Linked DNA regions of Homo sapiens: regions 1 and 2 are each linked to region 3. The links are contacts of gene promoters, found by promoter capture Hi-C in blood cells and fetal thymus (Javierre and others, 2016). All regions are on one chromosome and are shown on one strand. The core of a region is centred on a gene start or on the middle of the fragment in contact, and the rest is flanking DNA. Distances in the headings are between cores, read along the strand shown.

Region 1 (2,933 bases), core at 323-2,822, 440 kb before region 3:
AGGTGAAATATAAAGAGGGATCCAACAACACAGCTACGACTTCCTGGTCACACCATTGCCTGGGAAGCTTTCAGCTTTCTGTTTTTAGACTTAGATTGATCTCCTGGTCGAGATCCATATGCTTGTGAGATGGGCATCCTCATTAGCCTTGCTGATGAGGCAGCCGTGGATGTCGTGGGATGTGCGGGTAAAGCAGTCCCCTTCCTCTAGCAGGAAGATGAAAGCTGCCCAGACAGCCTGAGAAGCACCTTCCCATCATCCAAGCTTTCATTTTAGGCCTCTGGGGTGCTGGGCTGGGGAAGGCTGCCTGGCATTTTCAAATGGTTGGAGATACTGCTCAATGCAAGCCTGTATCCTGGACCAGCCTCAGGGGAAGGGCGACGGACTGAATTGTGTCCCCCAAAATTTAGACATTGAAGTCCTAACCCCCAGCACCTCAGAATGTGACTGTACTTGAAGAGATGATTCAGTTAGAATGAGGTCATTAGGGTGGGCCCTAATCCAGCAGGACTGGTGTCCTTATGAAGAGGGGAGATTTGGACATAGAGACAGACAGGTGCTAGGGAAAGCACCACGTGAAGATTGGAGTTATGCTGCCAAGGATCTACAAGGAGCTGGGAGAGAGGCCGGAGCAGGTCCTTCCCAGAGCCCTCAGGGGCAGCATAGCCCTGCCGACACCCTGATTTCAGTCTTCTGGCTTCCAGAACAGTGAGACGATATATTTCTGTGGTTCTAAGCCACCCAGTTTGTGGTACTTTGCTCTGGCAACCCTAGCAAAGAATACAGAGGGACTAAAAGGAGGTCCACGGATGCGCTGCTGAAACCAGGAATCCAGGTCAGGCCCGATTTGTCCTGTTCCAACTAGAGATGTGCTCCTCCTTCAGGAAGAAATCCTGCTTTTGCCAGAATGTACTCTTGTCTCTCCTTCTGGCCCTTTGGGCTCAAGAGTTCCACTGCTGTGATTCATGCAGAACAAAGAGGGAGCGCCTCAGCCTGGCTGTCAAGCCCTTCATCCATTCACCGATGTATTCATTCAGCAAGCGACTGCCAGCCGCCTATCAGGAGAGAGGTGAGTTCTGCTCACGGGGAACATCCCCTTCTTTTTCCCTGGGAAAATCTGCAACCCAAGCACCTATCTTCCAGAAGACCCACCTCCTTCTCGTCTCCTCTAGTTATGAGCCCTTGTCCCGGCTGTCACGGCCGTTTATCACACTCATCTCCAGTCCTAGCTCAGCTTGCCCACGTCCAACTCAAATCCTCCTTTTCCACGAAGTCTTCCCCCCAGACTCCATGAACTTTGTGGTTCATCTCTGTTCTGCCATCACCTCTCGCTTACCTCCGACTGTGGCCCTCGCCATCATCTGTCTGAGGTCTTAGTTACTTATCTACTTGACCGTGTCCCTCACTAGATCAGGACTTCCAGAGTGAGCCGTTCAATCATCTTTGTGTCCCTAGTACAGAGCCTGTGCAGAACGGGCACTCAACAGTGTCTTCTGAATTCACTGATTTCGTGCTGTGTGCTCTGGGGAGCTGCAAAAGGGCAGGACGCGTCTGGGCTCCCCTAGGCAAAGGTCCCAGTGCTGCAGCCCAAGGCATCCTCTGTGTCTCCTACTAGGGATCCCACTTCTCACTCTCGATGTGGCCTCCCCTCGCTGCCTGTTCATCCCGGCTCACTCCCTGGTCCTGCACTGGGGGCTGGAACACAGACTTCCTGGGGGTCCCGCCGTGGTGGGAGCTCCTGGGTTCCACTTGTTTGGGTTGTTTTAGATTCTTCCCCACTTCAGATGAGGAAAACAAGAGCCATTCTCCCTTCTGACTTTCCTTCCTTTTCTTTTCTCAGATCCCTCCAGTGTAGGAGGGTGGGAGGGAGAGCTGGTCCAGGGGTGAGGGGAGACTCCTTTCTCACAGGGAGTTTTCAGATAAAGGCTCTGGGAATCCTGAGAAGGGTGGAAGGTGCAGGAATGGACGCCGTGGAGTACAGGCTGGCTGGCTGGACAACACACACTTCCCATTGAGCCAGCAACTCGGATTTAGGAGCCAGCAGATGGTGACCGAAGTGCCCTGCTCTCTGGAAGTCCAGGCACCAGCTCAGCTCCACACTAGCCTAGGCCCTGCAAGCAGAATAAGCTGACCCTCCCCAACCTGCCGGCCACCCATTCAGGAGCACTGCTGGGTGTTTATCCAGCAACCCTTAGAGCTGGGCTTCAGGGTTGGGCCCTGAATTCAAACCCTAATTTTACGTGACCTAGTTTCTTGCCCTCTGTGAGACTTCGTGTCCTCACGTGTGAATTGGGGTGATGATACCCACCCCAAAGGCCTGCCTCAAGGTTTAATGATGGTGTGCATGGAAGGCCCTGGGTTCAGGGACTGGCACTCTACTCATGGTGGTTCTCGGTAGAATGAGAACCCCAGAGAGAGCTTCCCCGACAGCTGCAGGGACCATTGTTTTTCTGCTGTTGACCTTCCATTATCCTCTATAACAGTATCCCAATTTTGCTTTGAGAAGTTGCCTTTTCTCCACTGAGCACAGCCTGGTAGGGCTGGAATTAGGACTCCAGTACCACTGCCTTCACCCTGACAAGGGGTAGGCACATGCCTGTGTGAACCCTGAGAGAGCCAGCCCTTCGAGATGGATCCTGAGGGGCTATCCGGGTCTGAATTCTGAGTGGCGCTGAAAGCCATTTGCCTACTGCAGGTTCCCTACATGCCCTGTGCAAGCCGAACAGTAGCTCAATGTTGGGGCCTTCTTAGCTGTCTGTTCCTGCTCACACTGCCAGAATCAACTGCTGCCGACGTCCTCATTCTACCACCTGAACCTGACCAATGAAATGTGACCCGTGGTCAACTTTAACATCAGCAAATCAGAACTGAACAAGCTTGCATCCCTCAGATGCAATGGGAACTGGGATTAGAATCTAAGCAGAAACTTTTTC
Region 2 (2,773 bases), core at 266-2,765, 460 kb before region 3:
AGGCAAGTTAGTGGCAATGACCTGGTCACAGCTGTGAGGACACCAGCCCCAGTGGTGCCCATTAACACCCTGCAGCAACCCAAGCTTGGGTTGACAGTTGAAAAGGAAAGTGAAGCCGTACCAGAAAGAAAACTACGAGCTCCATATCCCAGCAGAGGACCACCGTGTGGCCCGCTGGGTAACTTGGGAGACCCATCTGTGCGGGTGCTGTGAGAGTCACCATAACATACCCTCATCTGGGCTGCAGGCCAGTTCTATATGGGCAGAGTGAAGGCCTCCTAGAAAATGGAGACCAAAGTGGCTGAAAATACCTCCTCTCAATTCCTCCTGGCTTTGGGGACAGCAGAAGGGACACTGGTCTTCAGGACCCTCATTCCCAAACAACCTGTGTCCACGGGAGGCAGGATGGGGCCCAATCGCACCTGTTGGTGTGGGAGTTGCAGTGCATGAACCAGCTGCGGTTGTTGTCCACATACATGGCCCAGGCCTTGTCATCCTTGCCCAGCATCATGTCCTTGACCACGCTGGCCCTGGCCACCCCGAAGGCGGGGTCTGGGTGGTTGTCGTACCGGTCCACGTGCAGCTCCCAGTAGTGCACGCCCTTGGAGAACGCAGCTGTGCCCAGCACCACCCGGTCGTCATAGCTGCTGCAGGTGGCTGTCTGGTTGTCATTGGATAAAATGATGTCCCGATGCCCAGAGTTGGGGTCAAATGTGAACCAGGCCACTAAAAAGGGAGGAGGTGAGAGGAGCAGGGTCAGGGGATGGAATTTGCTAGTAGTTTCTAACCGGCTCAGAGACACAAACACATTCGCTTCTGTTAGAAAGTCGGCACCCAGAAGTGAAGGGTCTTTCCTGTATGATTACCACACACGTGCACACACACACAAACGTACACACATGCACACACTCCCTGCTCTGTGTTCATCCAAGTTGCCAGCCCTACGAGCCTGGCCTTGCCAAGGATTTTCAGGCCTCAAAACCTCAAATCTAGATGCATTTTCTGGTCTTGGTTTCTAAAACCCTTCCAAATGCTCACAGTTAGAAATACAGGAGGAAATAGCCTGGGAGCAGTGGTCCACGCCTGTAATCCCAGCACTTTGGGAAGCCGAGGTGGGTGGATCACCTCAGGTCAGCGGTTTGAGACCAGCCTGGCCAGCATGGTTAAACTCCGTCTCTACTAAAAATACAAAAATTCGTGGCCGGGCATGGTGGTTCACACCTGTAATCCCAGCACTTTGGGAGGCCGAGGCGGGAGGATCACGAGGTCAGGAGATCAAGACCATCCTGGCTAACACAGTGAAACCCTGTCTCTACTAAAAATACAAAAAAATTAGCCGGGCGTGGTGGCAGGTGCCTGTAGTCCCAGCCACTCGGGAGGCTGAGGCAGGAGAAAGGTGTGAACCTGGGAGACAGAGCTTGCAGTGAGCCATGATCACGCCACTACACTCCAGCTTGGGCGACAGATCAAGACTCTGTCTCAAAAAAAAAAAAAAAATTCGCTGGACATGGTGGTGGGCGCCTATAGTCCCAGCTGCTTGGGAGGCTGAGGCAGGACAATCACTTGAACAGGTTGGCAGAGGTTGCAGTGAGCCAAGATTGTGCCATTGCACTCCAGCCTGGGCAACAGAGTGGGACTTCATCTCAAAAAAAAAAAAAAAAAAGTACAGGAGGAAATCGATATTGATGAGCCACCTCATGGGTGGGAGATTTGAGACACAGAGAGGTGAAGTGATGTGGCCAAAATCACAAAGCTCAATTCTCCATTTTGCAGCCCATCAGGTGGTGCCCCCTTTTGCTCCCCAACCCCCCAGGTTGATAGAAGTGAGTCCCTTACTCTAAAGTCATGACCACAATGCACAGGGCAAGGACCGCTCATCTCTGGGCAGGCAGGAGAGTCTAGAGGCAGAAGCTAGCGAGCTCTCCTCTAGGGGTGTACAAAGTGACTCTGCAGGTGGCATCATTTTCAGAAAAGTGTCCCTGGCTGGGCCTTTTGACACCAGCATCTGCTCATGCTCCTACTCCTCCCTGCCTCTAGGAGACCATCCAGCTGTGGCAGTCAGAGGATGTGTGGACTAAATGATAACAATGAATGCACGATTTGCCCTCTTCTTGGAGGCAGTGGGGAGCTGGAAACTGCCTCTGCAGCCTGGGCTGGGCCACACCTGGGGGAGCAGAACTCTCTTTGGAATGTGATTCCTATTTCTCTCATTGCTCTCTGCTAAGAACTCAGATGATCAAAATTCCACTGAATTAATATCAACATGCTGTTGTTGCCCAAGACCTAAAAGGCTGCAGGTAGGTGTATAAATCACTGGATGTGAGCTCTGATGCTGGGGATTAAAGGGCACTTTTCCGCTGTGAGAAAGGCTCAAATGTAGGGACTGGTGTGGGCCCACTGCATCTATCGTGGAGTTTTCTTGTCTGGGACTGTCCTACTCACTCCTCAGCCCTTGAGAAGTGGGAGAAGTTTAGCCTCCCTTAGCTACTTCACATTTAGTCCAGCACAATGGGGTAAATGAATGTTTCTTTCGTGGCTTGTAGGCCATGTGGGTGCAGCAAAGAGCTGTGTGTGCAGAGCAGGGTGAGGCGTATGCACCTCAACCGGCCCCTCCGGCCCTGCACTTCCTCCCTCCCCCATCTTCAGCAGCTCATCCTTTCCCCTGGTCCACGGGATGAAATGTGGGTTGGCCCTAGGAGTCAATCTTTGTCCTTTGGGAGCCCGCCTGTGGTCCCAGAAGGGCACGCCCTTGGAGAACCCAGCCGTGCCCAGC
Region 3 (3,053 bases), core at 230-2,729:
CCTGCCCCTGAAGAGCCCAGAAGTTTTGTGAATGTGCGTTAAAAAAAATTGTTTTTAATCATCAACATTATTTTAATGTTGGGAGATAGTGAGGAGGTAGTTATGATGAGTCCTTTGCTACTCATATGTAAGATGAGACTCAGAGCTAATAATCATTGTAATGATGATAATAATAGTATCAGTAATAGTAATAATGTGACAATAGCTGTAATGTACTGGAAACCTTCTGTGTGCTAGACATTGGCCTGCATTAGCCATTATTGTTCCCATTTTACAGGTGAGGAGACTGAGGCTCAGGGAAATGAAGTGATATGACTATATGCATGAGACAAATTGTCAGGATAAGACAGGCACTCAGGATCTCACTTGTAGGACCAGCATCCCTTGTACTGCCCCTCCTTGCCCAAAAGCAACCGGACCCCACAGGAGCCACTCCCAGGCCCGTACCCACCTGGAGGGAATGGAAGCCAGCCCAGCTGGCGCCGGGTCAGAGGTAGAGCCCTGACTAATCCAGCACCGCAAATATTGACATGGCGTCCCAGGCACAAGCTAGCACCTCTTGGGACCCAGTGACCAGCTGGTGCCTCTTGGGACGACACCTCCAGACTGTCAGAGGTGGGGCACTGTTCACCCTGATCTCTGGGAATGGGGGGTGCATGGTTCTCGGGAGAAGATTCCTGCTTCCCTTGTATTCCATCTGTCACCCGGTTGCTGAGACCTTGCTGAGCCAAACATCCATCCACACTGAGCACCCTCAGCTCTGGGCCAGAAGCCACAGAACACTGTGCATAACGTGATCTCAGTGTTACCACACACAGGGTGGGGGCCTGTCCTTGTGGATAAGGTTTTGATTCGTGCCTATCACCTGCTGACAAGACCCACTCTGACTCCAGGTCCTCAGCCTCGGTGGGAGTCAGACAGCTTGGAGCCGGGGAGCGGGTACAACCAGATGCCCCGGGTCCCCACCGCAGAGCATCCCAGGCCTGTACATTATTTTCTGCCTCCAAACTGCAAAGCTTTCCACGGTAGACTGGGATGATGCACCTCAGTTGCACTGAGCGTAGCCGGCCCCTCCCCAGCACCCCTGTTTCCACTTCCTGCGGGGGCTGCTGAACCTCGGCCTCATCTATGCTCCTTCCCCTGCTCGCCCCACTCACCCCTGGTCGTTTCCACACAAAGGGGATCTGCGGCCTCTCACTGTAGAACAGGGAGGAATTGCTGGCTGGGAAGTCTGCATCCTCAAACAGGGTGCCTCTCTGCAGGCACTCCTGCCTCATTTGCTCAAAGCTCTGGCCTGAGGAGTGGGTGATCCGGGCGTCCTTGGGAACCGGGTGTGCCTGAGGCCCTGGGGCCCGGTAGAGGTAAGGCATGGCTGCTCCCTGGAAGGCTGGCTTGGGTCCGGCAGTGGATGGAAAAGAAAGTGAAGAAGCGAGCTGTGTGTGCCGGTCAAGAAGGAACAGCTCAGAGGGCCACTGGGCTGAGTGGCCCTCACCTCCACCTATTTTCTGGGCACCTCCCTGTTAGACTGAGATGGGACACGCCCTGATGGAAAACAGCAGAGAGAGCCCTCTGCCCACTCTGCACTCCTGCAGACTCAGAGGCAGCTCTGGGGCCTGGCACATTCCACTCAGAGGCGGCACCTCTGCTTAGTGCGCTCAGGGGGCCTCATGGGAGAGAGAGGATTGCTTCAGAAGGAAAAGGAGCAAGAAACCCAACTGGTCCAGGAGGTGGCTTTACGGAGAAGTGCACGGTGTGGTCTTGAGTCCCATCTCCTGCATCAGAGAATGGCAGAGTTTTGTAGTCGGAAGGGAGGTTGGTGAATGAAAGCAGGATGCATTATGTGAACACAGCTGGCACAGCTCCTGCACAGGCAATCCCATAGTGATTCAGCACTGGGGTCAGCAAACCTTTTCTGTAAAGGCCCAGACCATGAATATTTTCAGCTTTGTGGGCCACGCAAAGTCTGTGCTGCAACTACTCAACTTTGCTGTTGTAGTGACAAAGCAGCCGTAGATGTGACACAGATGAATGGGTGTGGCTGTGTTCCAATAAAACTTTATTTACAAAGGCAGGTGGGGGTTAGATTTCATCCAACCTGACCCCTGATAGAGGAGAACTCACAGAGGACATCGGCTCTTCCTCTAGGGCACATGTGCCTCTTTCATTCTCTAGACATCATATTAATAAAGTTCCTTGTTGTTATAGTCCTACAAATAGGATCTCACGTCTGAGAAAAAACAAATGTTAGAGGATGGAGGTGGTTTGATAAATGTGTTTGCCCATAGAAATGATTATACAGGCTGGGTGTGGTGGCTCACACCTGTAATCCCAGCACTTTGGGAGGCCGAGGAGGGTTGATCACCCGAGGTCAGGAGATCAAGACCAGTCTGGCCAACATCATGAAACCCTGTCTCTACTAAAAATACAAAAAATTAGCCCGGTGTGGTGGCGGATGCTTGTAATCCCAGCTACTTGGGAGGCTGAGGCAGGAGAATCCCTTGAACCTGGGAGGTGGAGGTTGCAGTGAACTGAGGTCGTGCCACTGCCCTCTAGCCTGGGTGACAGAGAGAGACTCTGTCAAAAAAAAAAAAAAAAAAAAAAGAAAAAAGAGAGAGAGAGAGAAAGAAAAGAGAGAGAGAGAAGGAAAGAAGAAAAGAAATGATAAATACTGGAGGGGATAGATAGCCTAAATACCCCAACTCGATATCACACATTCTGCACATGTAACAAAATAGCACATGTACCCCATCAATACGTACAAATATTATGTATCAATAAAAATAAGTCAATAAAAGTATTAGTCACCACGTGAAAACTCTGATGTTCTAAGCACTTTATAATGATTTCTGTGTGATTCTCTAACTAGTCAAAGTTGAGGTTTGGAGACAAGGGGTCTTGAGTTAATGGGTACAGTTAAAAGGCCATGATGTGAATTTTTATATAAGCTCACAGTTCCCAGGAGTGTGCACTCAGTCTGACACACGTTCTGTCTAGTAGATCCTGCATATGGTTTTACAGGGGAGGTCTAGACATTAGAGTTGGGGATATTTGGG

The links. Contacts are between HindIII fragments. The CHiCAGO score rates a contact against its expected background, and 5 or more counts as called.
Region 1: a contact is called between a fragment that was not itself captured here and the fragment with the promoter of CAPN9 in region 3, in 1 of 17 cell types (endothelial precursors). The highest score is 5.0, in endothelial precursors.
Region 2: a fragment that was not itself captured here is called in contact with the fragment with the promoter of CAPN9 in region 3 in 1 of 17 cell types (naive B cells); the score reaches 5.2 in naive B cells.

The regions. Positions count from the first base shown.
Region 1 is chr1:231,184,212-231,187,144 of GRCh38, reverse strand. All of the region lies in intron 1 of TRIM67 (tripartite motif containing 67), which reads right to left. TRIM67-AS1 (TRIM67 antisense RNA 1) reads left to right here. Exons shown (of 3, transcript NR_166514.1): 2 at 972-1,069; 3 at 1,909-2,933. Among named protein-coding and RNA genes, the nearest start is that of TRIM67-AS1, 1.9 kb to the left of the region's middle. RefSeq lists an enhancer at 2,802-2,933. The HindIII fragment of the contact is 2,612 bases long and covers 267-2,878 here.
Region 2 is chr1:231,206,900-231,209,672 of GRCh38, reverse strand. TRIM67 (tripartite motif containing 67) reads right to left here. Exons shown (of 10, transcript NM_001004342.5): 8 at 423-726. Among named protein-coding and RNA genes, the nearest start is that of TRIM67-AS1, 21 kb to the right of the region's middle. The HindIII fragment of the contact is 2,858 bases long and covers 87-2,773 here.
Region 3 is chr1:230,745,814-230,748,866 of GRCh38, reverse strand. CAPN9 (calpain 9) reads right to left here and starts at 1,479. Exons shown (of 20, transcript NM_006615.3): 1 at 1,158-1,479. The coding sequence starts at 1,370. The HindIII fragment of the contact is 4,090 bases long and covers 1,019-3,053 here.